Regions from separate parts of the Homo sapiens genome. Here all the other regions are linked to region 3. Evidence: promoter capture Hi-C in human tissues and cell types (Jung and others, 2019). All regions are on one chromosome and are shown on one strand. The core of a region is centred on a gene start or on the middle of the fragment in contact, and the rest is flanking DNA. Distances in the headings are between cores, read along the strand shown. Region 1 overlaps ATP8B1 (ATPase phospholipid transporting 8B1). Region 2 holds the start of LOC124904310 (a long non-coding RNA gene). Region 3 holds the start of ZNF532 (zinc finger protein 532).

Region 1 (3,921 bases), core at 1,419-3,918, 1.2 Mb after region 3:
TTTCTATCACATGAAAGTGTTACACGTAGCCTTGTCACATATATCATTTTAACACAAACATTTAATTTGTTGATATAAAGCACTGAGAATTTCTCAAACACAGATATAGTTTTGTTTATATGAAAATAAGTTTATTCCTAACAAACAATAGCCAGTATTCTAATTCAGATCAAGATTGCCTTTCCTTTTTTTTTTTTTTTTTTTTCTTAGAAAGACTCTGTCACCCAGGCTGGAGTGCAGTGGTGCAATCTTGGCTCATTGCAACCTCCGCCTCCTGGGTTCAAGTGATCCTCATGCCTCAGCCTCCCAAGTAACTGGGATTACAGGCACCGCCACCACGCCTGGGTAATTTTTGTATTTTTAGTAGAGACAGAGTTTCACTATGTTGGCCAGTCTGGCTGCGAACTCCTGACCTCGACTGATCTGCCCGTCTCAGCCTCCCAAAGTGCTGGGATTACAGGTGTGAGCCACAGTGCCTGGCCTAAGATTGCCTTTCTTCTGTTGCTGTGTATACATTTTCAACTGTATCTTCCTTTGACTGTCTTTGAAAAATGATGAATTACATGGTACCCCCATGGTGGATGAATCGAGACATAGTAAAATTACATGTCGCTCAGTTAAAAAAAAAAAAAAAAAAGGGCTGGCCAGGCGTGGTGGCTCATGCCTGTAATCCCAGCACTGTGGGGGGCTGAGGCGGGTGGATCATGAAGTCAAGAGATTGAGACCATCCTGGCCAACATGGTGAAACCCTGTCTCTACTAAAAATACAAAAATTAGCTGGGCATGGTGGTGCCCGTCTGTAGTCCCAGCTACTTGGGAGGCTGAGGTGGAAGAATAGCTTGAACCTAGGAGGTGGATGTTGCAGTGAGCTGAGATAACACCACTGCACTCCAGCCTGGTGACAGAGCGAGACTCTGCCTCAAAAAAAAAAAAAAAAAAAAAAAATGGGCAAAGCACTTTGAGTAGACATTTTTCCAAAGAGGACATGCAAATGGCTGATAAACATGTGAAAGGAGGCTCATCATCACTAATCATTAGGGGAAGATAAATCAAAACCAAAGCAAGATAACACCTCACACCCTTTAGGATGGCTACTATCAAAAACAAAACACAATAGAAAATAACAATCATTGTTGAAGGAACCTTTGTGTGTTGTTGATGAAATATATAAAATGGTGCAGCCACTATGCAAAACAGTATGGTGATGTTTCAAAAAATTTCAAAAAGGATTACCATATGATGCAACAATCCCACTTCTGGGTATATCCACAAAATAATTGAAAGCAGGATCTCAAAGAGATACATGCACACCCATGTTCACAGCAACACTGTTCACAGCAGCCAAGAGATGGACGCAACCCAGGTGCCCATCAGTGAGTGAATGGATAAACAGAATGTGGTGCTTCCACATAATGGAATATATTCAACTTTAAAAAGGAAGGAAATTATGACATATATTATATAGATGAACCTTGAAGACATTAAGCTAAGTGAAATAAACCAGTCACAGAAAGACAAATACTGTTTGATTTCACATATATGAGGTATCTAGAGTGCTCAAATTCATTCAAACAGAAAGTTAACTGGAAGTTACCAGGGACTGGAGGGCGAGTGAGGTGAGGTGTTATTGTTTAATAGGTATAGAGTTTCCGTTTTGCAAGATGAAAAAGTTCTAGAGATTGGTTGGATAACAATGTGACTATAGTTAACACTACTAAGTTGTACACTTAAAAATGGTCAAAGCCCGGGATATGGCAAAACCCTATTGCTACAAAAAATACAAAAATTAGCCAGGCGTGATAGCGTGTGCCTATAGTCCCAGCAACTCAGGAGGCTGAGGCAGGAGAATCACTTGAGGCTGGGAGGTCAAGGCTGCAGTGATCCATGATCATGCCACTGCTCTCCAGCCTGGGTGACAGAGTGAGACCCTCTCTCAAAAAAATTATAATGAAAATAAAATAAAGAAACAAAAATAGGTAAGATGGTAAACTTTGTTTTTTTGTCACAATTTTTTTTAAGTCAAAGTTATCTCAGAGTCAAGGGCCTATTTAGGGTCTTACACTTTAAACACTGAAATTTGGTTTCCCCTAGTTCTCTTCTTCATGCAAGGATGGAAAACCAGAGGAATAGAGGTGGCGTCTACGCAAAGTTTGCACCTCCTGTGCAGGAATCTTTTTTTCCACCCGGTGGAAACCGTGCCTTAATCATCACTGGTTCTTGGTTGGTACGTATCATTAGTGTATCTGTGCCTTTAACTCAAAAGAAAGAAGTTCATTTGGAGCCACTTTTAGATGCTTTCACATGTTAACTGCCAACCTAAAAGTCTCTTAGCCTATACATGAAAGTGTGGTTTTTCCAAGTTTGAGACTTAATAATATATGATATATGAAAGGATGTATACCAAAGAGGTAAAAGTGGTTATCTTGGTTTACTAATTAATGGGTTTTTTCATTTTCTTCTTTATAGATTGTTAGATTTTCTAAATTTTTGTTGCATATATATTTTATAAGCTGGATGTGGTGGCATGCGCCTGTAGTCCCAGCTCCTCTGGAGGTTGAAGCAGGAGGGTGGTTTGAGCTTAGGTGTTCGAGGCTGCAGCATGCAATGATCACACTTGTGAATGAATAGCCACTGCACTTCAACCCAGGCTATACAGCAAGACCCCATCTCCATTGAAAAATATATATATAGCTGAGCACAGTGGCTCACGCCTGTGCTCCCAGCACTTTGGGAGGCCAAGGCGGGCAGATCACAAGGTCAGGAGATGGAGACCATCCTGGCCAATATGGTGAAACCCCGTCTCTACTAAAATACAAAAAAAATAATTAGCCAGGCGTGGTGGTGCACACCTGTAGTCCCGGCTACTCGGGAGGCTGAGGCAGGGAAATTGCTTGAACCTGGAAGGCAGAGGTTACAGTGAGCCGAGATCGTGCCACTGCATTCCAGCCTGGCAACAGAGTGAGACTCCATCTCAAAAAAAAAAAAAAAAAAAATATATATATATATATATGTGTGTGTGTGTGTGTGTGTATATACATACACACATACATATATGTGTGCGTGTGTATATACATACACACGCACACATATATATACATGTTTTGGTTATAAAATCAAATTTATTTGTCAAATATAATCAGTGACATAATCCAAAAATTATCCTTCACATAATTTAAATCTTGGGAATGGTACTCCTGGGGTAAAACTAAAGTGAATGTAACCTTTTCCCTCTCTGATTTCACAGAATGAAATTCTTCTCGAGAAAAAGACCAAGAGAAATAAGATTCTGAAGCTGAAGTTCCCAAGAACAGAAGAAGAAAGACGGATGCGGACCCAAAGTAAAAGGAGGCTAGAAGCTAAGAAAGAGCAGCGGCAGAAAAACTTTGTGGACCTGGCCTGCGAGTGCAGCGCAGTCATCTGCTGCCGCGTCACCCCCAAGCAGAAGGCCATGGTGGTGGACCTGGTGAAGAGGTACAAGAAAGCCATCACGCTGGCCATCGGAGATGGGGCCAATGACGTGAACATGATCAAAAGTGAGTCATGCACCCACGGCCAGTGAGGCCCAACGTGCTAGAGAGGAGAAATGGCTGGAATGTGTAGGGGGTGGATTTTCTTTTTTTAGATTTTACAGCTTAGGTTTTCATAGAGCAGATGTTTCATAAAGTCACTTAACCATGACAACGCCTGTGACCCTACCCCCAGAAAGCCCACAGCCCATCAGGAGGAAAGAGTATCACTGACAGGGCTTCTGAAGGATGCGAAGAGGAAAATAAGGTCTATGGGGGGAAATTTATCCTTATATTTTTATTCTTTTATATAGATGTTGTGTATTTTTTTCTCTCTTACTGGTTCTCTTCCCATATTTTGGGTTTATTAAAAGCCCTGATATTGGCTGGGCACAGTGGCTCACGCCTATAATCC
Region 2 (3,630 bases), core at 529-3,028, 1.1 Mb after region 3:
GGGTGAGGGAGAACAGAGCTTCAGCCAAGCAGCTTGCAGGGAGGTGAGGAGAGGTTTTAGGTTCTGGAAACATTTGGAAGGCAGAGCCTAGGGCTTACGGATGAATAGGGAGCAGGGTAGGAGGGAAGATGAGACTCCAGCATGACTCTAGGTGTTTGGCATGAGCACCTGGGAGATGGGGTTGCCTTTTACTGACGTGAGGAAGCCTGGGGGATAATGGAGTTATGAGGGAAATTGAGGGGTTCAGTCTTAGGTTTGAGTAGACACTTGAAGTTTGAAATTTAGCTTCCTTTGGCTAAATATGGAAACATTTGGGGGAACCACCCTCTTCTTGAATAAAATGCTAATAAGTGCGTATAGAATGTCAGGGCCAAATAAGAACCCTTGCAGAGTTCAGCTGCCTGCAGCAGTTGCTAAGGCTAGAAACTGGGCACCTTTTTCAATGTTTTTCCTCCCAGACCCCCTGCCCGGATGAAGTGAGTTGTAAAATGCTGCCTCTGCCTCTGAAAGTTCTGCCAGAAATCCCACCCTTTCTGTCTGCACCACCTTATTAGCCTCCGCCTTTGGCCCCTGTTGCCAGAGGACAGTAAGGACTTTCTGCACTCTTGTCTTGGCCACAGATTAACACCATCTTTTCCTGGAGTCCTTGGTCAGGGTTATCATTTCTTTCTTTTCTTTTTTTTTTTTTTTTTAAGACAGAGTCTCGCTCTGTCACCCAGGCTGGAGTGCAATGGTGTGATCTTGGCTCACTGCGTCCTCTGCCTCCTGTGTTAAGAGATTTTCCTGCTTCAGCCTCCTGAGTAGCTGGAATTACAGGCATGCACCACCACACCCAGCTAATTTTTGTATTTTTAGTAGAGATTTGTTAGTAGAGCCTCTGCCTCCCGTAGTGTTGGAATTACAGGCATGAGCCACCGCTCCAGGCCTAGGGTTATCATTTCTAAAATGCAAATCTGATTAAAACAGTTCATGTTGTTGAGGCCCCAGCCTCTTTGCACAGATGGATCCTGCACTTCTGCTCCCCACCTCCTCACCTCTGCAGGTGCTTCAACTTCAGGAACCAACTCACTTCTTCCAGAATAGCTTCCTAGGCCCCCTTCCCTGCTCTATGTCCTCATCGTCCCTGTTACTTCTCCATCACAGCAGAGAGGCTTCTGTGCGCCGAATTCCTAGGGTCTGCCTTACCTTAGACTTTAAGCTTCATAGGGACAGGAGCCACGTTGCTCACCAGCAGCTGACTGAATACCTGCCACGAGGTCGGGACGTGTTGTTTACTCAATGCATGGGAGAACTCAGATGGCCTCTCCCTGCTTAGCACACAAATTCCAAATGCCGCTAGCACCCAAGGCCTTCCCAGCCTTGCCTCAGTCTGCTTTCCAGTCTCCTCTTCCAACTCTCTTCTTCTTCCTCCCCTGTCTACCCGCACTTTAGTAACTGAACTAATCCTGTGTGCCTTCAGTGCTGCAGAATATTTGCCCCCAGGGATTTCTTTCCAGAAATGCCTTTCTCCTCTCACTTTCTATCTCCCAATCAGATAGTGGCCCAGCTTGGGACTTGACCTTCAAGGCCAACTCAGCATCCCTCCTGTCTCTCTCCATCCCTGATCATCAGGTATAATTGACTGCTTTCTCCTCCACTTCTCCCGCTAGCAATACTCACAGTGAATGTCATGGTAAGGTGTTTATTTGCCACTGATGGGCGGGTAGTAGAGGAACAATGGAATTTTACATTTTAGGAGGCTTGTTCCTTATAATTATCTTAGCTCTTTTATAAAGCACTGATAGGTAACAAAATTACAGGTTTGAACTCAGAAAGCTTGCAAAGTTTTTGTTTTTGTTTTGTTTTTAGGATAACTTTAGGGAGATTTCTAAGTATTGTATAGGTTCAGTTAACCAACATAACATGTTTTTTAGGAGTATAAACATTATAGAGATGTCTGCCGACTAATTAGTATGTCGATTGTAGTTTTAATCGTGAAAATTGGGGTGGGAACAGCTAAAGGCAGAGCTAACTGGTTTTTTCCCAGGTATTTATCATGAGTTGTGTGCCTTAGGCTGTGTTCCCTTTTGAATGTGGTTTTTCTGGTTGTTCTGACAGCACTGCTAAGTGTGCCCTTTGACATTACTGGAGAACTAATTTATATTGATGGTGCCACTCATATCTTTGGAAACTGGATATGTTCTGATCAGCTCATTGATTTCTAACCTGTAGGATTACAGTAAAATTTAGACCTGAGGCACCACCCAGAAACTCCTGCTGCTGTATGTGGCCTGAATGAATCAAAATATGCTTGGACAGCTCATTATTTAACAGAAAACTCTGCCTTTGGCTTTTGAAGAGCAGATGTCCAAATGTAACTTGTCAGCCTGATTTTTGGAAGCTTGAGCAAGGGGAACCTGGTTATCTCAGACCATTTCGTAATTATAAAGAAAGTGAATTGAAGGATCAGGAAGTAAGTGAATTGAAGGATCAGGAAGTAAGGGAATTGCCTAACAATAGGAGATGCACCACGCCCAGTGCTGAGAGAGGTAGACTATATCACGCTTAATAAAACTGTCTGAATGAGTGATGGACTACTCCCATATCCTCTAAAGGAGGTAGTCTGACTCCTACAGAAACAGCTCCATTTTGATTTTAGGAGGTGGTTGTGATATAAGACTTACCATCTTAATTCTGCCATCAGTTGCAATCAGCATTAATTGCAAATCTCTTTCTGACAAAAATTCAAGTCCAGGCAGGGTGCAATGGCTCACGCCTGTAATTCCAGCACTTTGGGAGGCTGAGGTGGGCAGATCACTTGAAAAGGAGTTCAAAACCAGCCTGACCAACATGGTGAAACCCTGTCTCTACTAAAAATACAAAAATTAGCTAGGTGTGGTGGCACGTGCCTGTAATCCCAGCTATCAGGAAGCTGAGGCAGGAGAATCGCTTGAACCTAGGAGGCAGAAGTTGCAGTGAGCCGAGATCGTGCCACTGCACTCCAGCCTGGGCGACAGAGCGAGACTCTGTTACAGAACAAAACAAACAAAATTCACATCCATGTTTCTAGAAGAACGGTGACTTTAACTCGTATCTGACTGTCCCTTTGCTGTTCTGTCCTTAACATTGGGGCATGTTGACATGTTTTCACCTACAGGTATATTGCCATGAACTTGCGATCTGCCGCAGTAGGCAAGCCCCAGTATACCTGTCCCCTGCGTGTGGTTTGCCCCCAAGGGGTAGCCTCCCCACTGGCTGGCTTGCAGTGCATCTCAAAGTCCCTGTCTCAGCCTCTCCTTCTCCTCTATCCCATTTCTACCCATCTGGAGCTCCTGCCTCAACAATTTGGCTCCAGGGGTACCCTGTTCTGAGGGTGGGCCGGCTGGAGGCAGGAGAAAGGAGCCTTGTGTCTCACGGAGTGAGGAAGATCCCAAACTGGATGGAGGCAAAGTGGATGGTAACTAAATTCTGTGGTGCCATTGCATATAGAACACAGGCCTGTCAAGGCAAGTGGCATTTTGTGGACTGCTCTGGAAAGTGCTAAACAAATTTTGAGACATCTAACCGAAATGTGAAATATTGGACTGCGGTTCCCATTGGCAGCTGGGGTGGGTGGGCACCTAGGGAAGCTTGCTAGGCTGAGGCACTTCT
Region 3 (3,716 bases), core at 408-2,907:
CAGCAGAAAGGCAGGACCAGTTCTATCTGTTGTTGAGATCACACTGGATCCCATTCTGGAGCTGCTGGTTTCCTGTTTGGGGAAGTTGCAGTTCTTTTCACAAGGAACCCAAGGCAAAATGTTGAGTGTTCTCCTGCAAGCCCCCTCAGCCTTTGTTCTTCACTTTGCTACTCTCCTCACTCCTTCCTTCTCTCCTCTCCTCTCCAACCTCTGGTTTTGGAAGGTGCATTAAAATGCCTGCTCAAACCTAACTGCGATCTTTAAAGGCATCAGACATTTTCTACCACCCATTCCAGTACAGCTTTGAGTTAACAGGCATCTTTTCACAGATGAAGCCAGACTACCCGGCTTCCCCCTGGTATTGCATTAGTATTCCACATTAAACATATGCCACAAAGAATCCAATGGCGAACTCACCGTCAACAGCCCCCAAAATCAATAAAAGACATTCCACCACTTGAGTCGGAGTGAAAAACCTTTCAGGTTAACACAAGAGAGCAAGGTAAAAGAAAGGTGATGAATGAACAAAAGGCAAATCTACCTTCAGACTCCTCAAATCCTAAAAAGGTGGCTAGGCTGCCTCGATTTGGTGAAGCCCTTCCTTTTCTTATAATCATCGGGAAAATGCCACATGTGTACTGCTTTCGTCTTATGCAAAACAGCACATTCTCCACAAGGCCCTGACGCCTACCATTCTCCACACTCGCTTCCTTCCAGGCCTGACTCTCCCAATTGCCCAGACACATGCGATTTAATGAAGGCATTCAGATTTCGCCTTGATCGCAATACCATCATAAAGTCACTCTAATCCCATTAAACTGGGATAACATTAAGAGCATTTCTTCTCCACTCTGAACCCAATTTTATCTCCTGGGTAGCAATCCACGGTCCGTCTGTGTCTAAATGGATCTGCAAATAAATATTTAAATTCATGCTCAAAACAGCGTATCTCACCTTGTGAACCTTGACCTTTTGGAAAGACTTTAGACCAATGTTCAGTTACTGTCACACGGCTGCATTCTCAGCAAATAGGAAAGGGTTAAAAGCAGCCCCAGTCAACAGGCCTACAAGGAAAAAAAAGACAGCATGTATGGCTAACAGCATCACTGGAATGCATTTATGTTCATTTCCTAGAACGATATTGTTACCTTTTGGCCTTCATAATAGTCAGAAGCATCCCCAACACCCTTTAGTAGCTTCTAAAAGAAAAAGCACAAGACAGAACATACCCTGCAAGAGAAAAAAAGCATGCAAAGTAGCATTCTCCAGCAACAAACAAACTACCATTACAAACCCCTCAGTTCATTTTGGTTTTGTTTTGTTATAAACACCGAGAAAGAGAGAGAGAGACTGCATCAACCAAGTGTCCCCACCCTAGCAAGGCACATTTTTTTCTCTAATAAGGGTCATAAATCTCAGCTCCTTGTCCATCCCTTAAGCAAAAGAAAAAGGCAGGAAAAGCCCAAGTAATCTCAGACCCTGCAAACCTGCACCTTTTTTTCCATCTTCTCTACCCAGAATCTTTTAGGGCTCCATTAGTCACGTACCAGTGCTGTGTGGTGTCTAAGTGTGCATTCACATACTGTGTAGGGATGGTACCTTCCTGCAAGCTCCTCTGCTTTTGGCTGCCATGAAGGGAGGAAGCTGCTATCCTACTGTAGTAGCTCAGTGACTGCATTGTGTTCAGGAGCTGATCTGCCTCAAACCAGTTTCAGCCGGTTCTGGTCACCCTACATAAAAAAGCTATGGCAACCCTCGCTGAGTTGCCAACAAGTCCCTGAAAATCATCAGCACAGGGGGGATCTCGCTGGGGTTTGCTCTTCCCTCTTAGGTCTTCCTGAGGAGGAGAAGGTCATCGTGTGTCCCCCCACCCCACGAGCACACAGCCTTGGAAATGCTCACCTCGCAAGCACCCCAGAGCCCCTCAGGGCCCATCCCCCCTCCCCTCCACCCCACAGCCCACCGCAGACACTGTTTCCCCCTCCTTCTCCTTCCCCCACTTACCTCCCACAACCTGGCTCAGATCTTTGTGTACGTGTGTGTCAGTGTGTGCTCTCTGTGTTGGTGGCTGACAAAGAGCCCCCAAGAAAGCGAGCTATGTGTGTCTGCTCACACGGGATGCGTCGGCTGCAGAGCCGGCCTGGCCTCCTAGCACAGTGGTGCTGGCTTGTTGACCAGGCTCCTCTCTGCTGTCACCCCCACCCCACCCAGCCCCCTCCTCCCTTCCGTCCCTCTCCTCTCTCTCCCAGCCCTGTCACCACCACCAGCAGCCCCCCAGTCTCCTCCTCCTCCTCCAACCTTCTCTTCTTTCAAGCACCTGGGGGGAGAAGTCCAAATCCCTTCACCTCGGGGGAAGAAAACTGGGGCTGTCTGGGGAGGGGGCGGGGGGCGAAGGCAGGGCCAGTGGGAGAGGGGGCACGGAGGCCTCTGGAAACGCATCTGTGCCCGGCCGGCGCCGGCGGGGGGAGTAGGAGAGCCGCGCTCACGTGGCCCCCGTCTCGTAACCTGCGGGGCCTAGCCCGGGCGGTTCCTCCTCGGCCCCCCAAGCCAGCTGGCGGGGCGCGAAGGCCGGCTGTCCCCAAGGCCAGGGTGGGACAGGCCACTGCGGGCAGGCCCAGGGGCCTGAGCCTCACGCGCTCACCCCGGCCCGCAGGAGTGGGCACGAGGGGCCGCACCCCGCCTCTGCCCGGCGCCCACCCGCGCCCCTGGGTCCGGCTGCCCTGCGCCCCTCGTTCGCCCCGGCCGCCTCCCGCCGCCCCGCACCCCCAGAGGCGCACACCCACCCCCTTCCCGGGGTTGGCCTTCGCGGCGGTCAAGCCCGGGCGTCTGGGCCGCAGCTCGGATGACCTTTGTTCAGCGCGGCGCCGCCGGCGGCTGCTGCTGTGGCTGCTGCTGCTGTCGTCGGAGCGGCGGCGGCGGCGGCTTCCATGTTACGGGCGTGTCATCTGCGTTCCCGCTGCCGGGGTCTGTGTGTGCGTGTGCGGTGGAGCGGCCTCGCCGCCGGGCCGGGCGGCGGCGGCGGCGGCGGCTCGGCCCGGGCGGCGAGCGAACAAAAGGGAGCGCGGGCGAGGGGGAGGGGGCGGCCGGTGGGGGAAGGGAGCTCCGGGACCGGGCGGCGGCAGCGCGAAGCCCCGCGGCCGGCGGGCGCCGACGCCCGGCCGCTGCGGAGCCCCGAGTCCGGCGGCGGCGAGAAGGCGCCCCGCGGACCTGCCAAGTCTCGCCCATACGGGGCCGCTGGCTCGCGGCTTCGCCCCGGGAGTGGAGCGGGGTGGTGGGGCTGGTGAGGGGGCGCAGGGAGGGCTGCTTTTTTCCAACGACATTGCGGGCTCTCACCCAGTCCTTTCCGTGGCCCCAAGCCGCGACTTACTCGAGTGGAAGGAAGCAAGGCCTCGCCAAAGATGGTTGAAAAGACCGTGAGCCTCTACCCAGGATCTTGAAGCCAAGGTGGTGGTTTGTTTTCCTCGTAATGATGGCAAATGAGTAAGAAGAGAGCACGCTATCTTCGGACAAATTAAATCTGAAATTCTCCCTGGAGGTGGAAGAAGGGGCTCTCCTCTGGTTAGTTAGTGGTTTGGAGCCCTTTTCGCCTTCAACTGAGCCACAAAAGGATGGAAGACACCCCCTGGGGTGGGGAGAAAGCCCTGGTGTAAAAGACACACGTTTGCTTTCAGAGAAAAAGCCACTGGGGCCAGATTGAAACATGGCATGTTCAGTTC

The links. The method cuts DNA at HindIII sites, captures the fragments that hold promoters and counts their contacts. A contact is called where the count stands out against the background at its distance.
Region 1: a contact is called between a fragment that was not itself captured here and the fragment with the promoter of ZNF532 in region 3, in 1 of the 25 tissues and cell types used here (dorsolateral prefrontal cortex).
Region 2: a contact is called between a fragment that was not itself captured here and the fragment with the promoter of ZNF532 in region 3, in 1 of the 25 tissues and cell types used here (aorta).

Annotation. Positions count from the first base shown.
Region 1 is chr18:57,660,786-57,664,706 of GRCh38, reverse strand. ATP8B1 (ATPase phospholipid transporting 8B1) reads left to right here. Exons shown (of 28, transcript NM_001374385.1): 21 at 2,092-2,224; 22 at 3,245-3,533. All of the region lies in intron 2 of ATP8B1-AS1 (ATP8B1 antisense RNA 1), which reads right to left. Among named protein-coding and RNA genes, the nearest start is that of ATP8B1-AS1, 32 kb to the right of the region's middle. The HindIII fragment of the contact is 6,266 bases long and covers 1-3,921 here.
Region 2 is chr18:57,770,264-57,773,893 of GRCh38, reverse strand. The region is part of intron 1 of ATP8B1 (ATPase phospholipid transporting 8B1); the gene reads left to right. It overlaps LOC124904310 (a long non-coding RNA gene), which reads right to left and starts at 2,802. Exons shown (of 2, transcript XR_007066388.1): 1 at 2,664-2,802. The HindIII fragment of the contact is 5,328 bases long and covers 1-3,630 here.
Region 3 is chr18:58,862,818-58,866,533 of GRCh38, reverse strand. ZNF532 (zinc finger protein 532) reads right to left here and starts at 1,657. Exons shown (of 10, transcript NM_001375912.1): 1 at 1,149-1,657; 2 at 955-1,064. RefSeq lists an enhancer at 3,660-3,716. The HindIII fragment of the contact is 28,079 bases long and covers 1-3,716 here.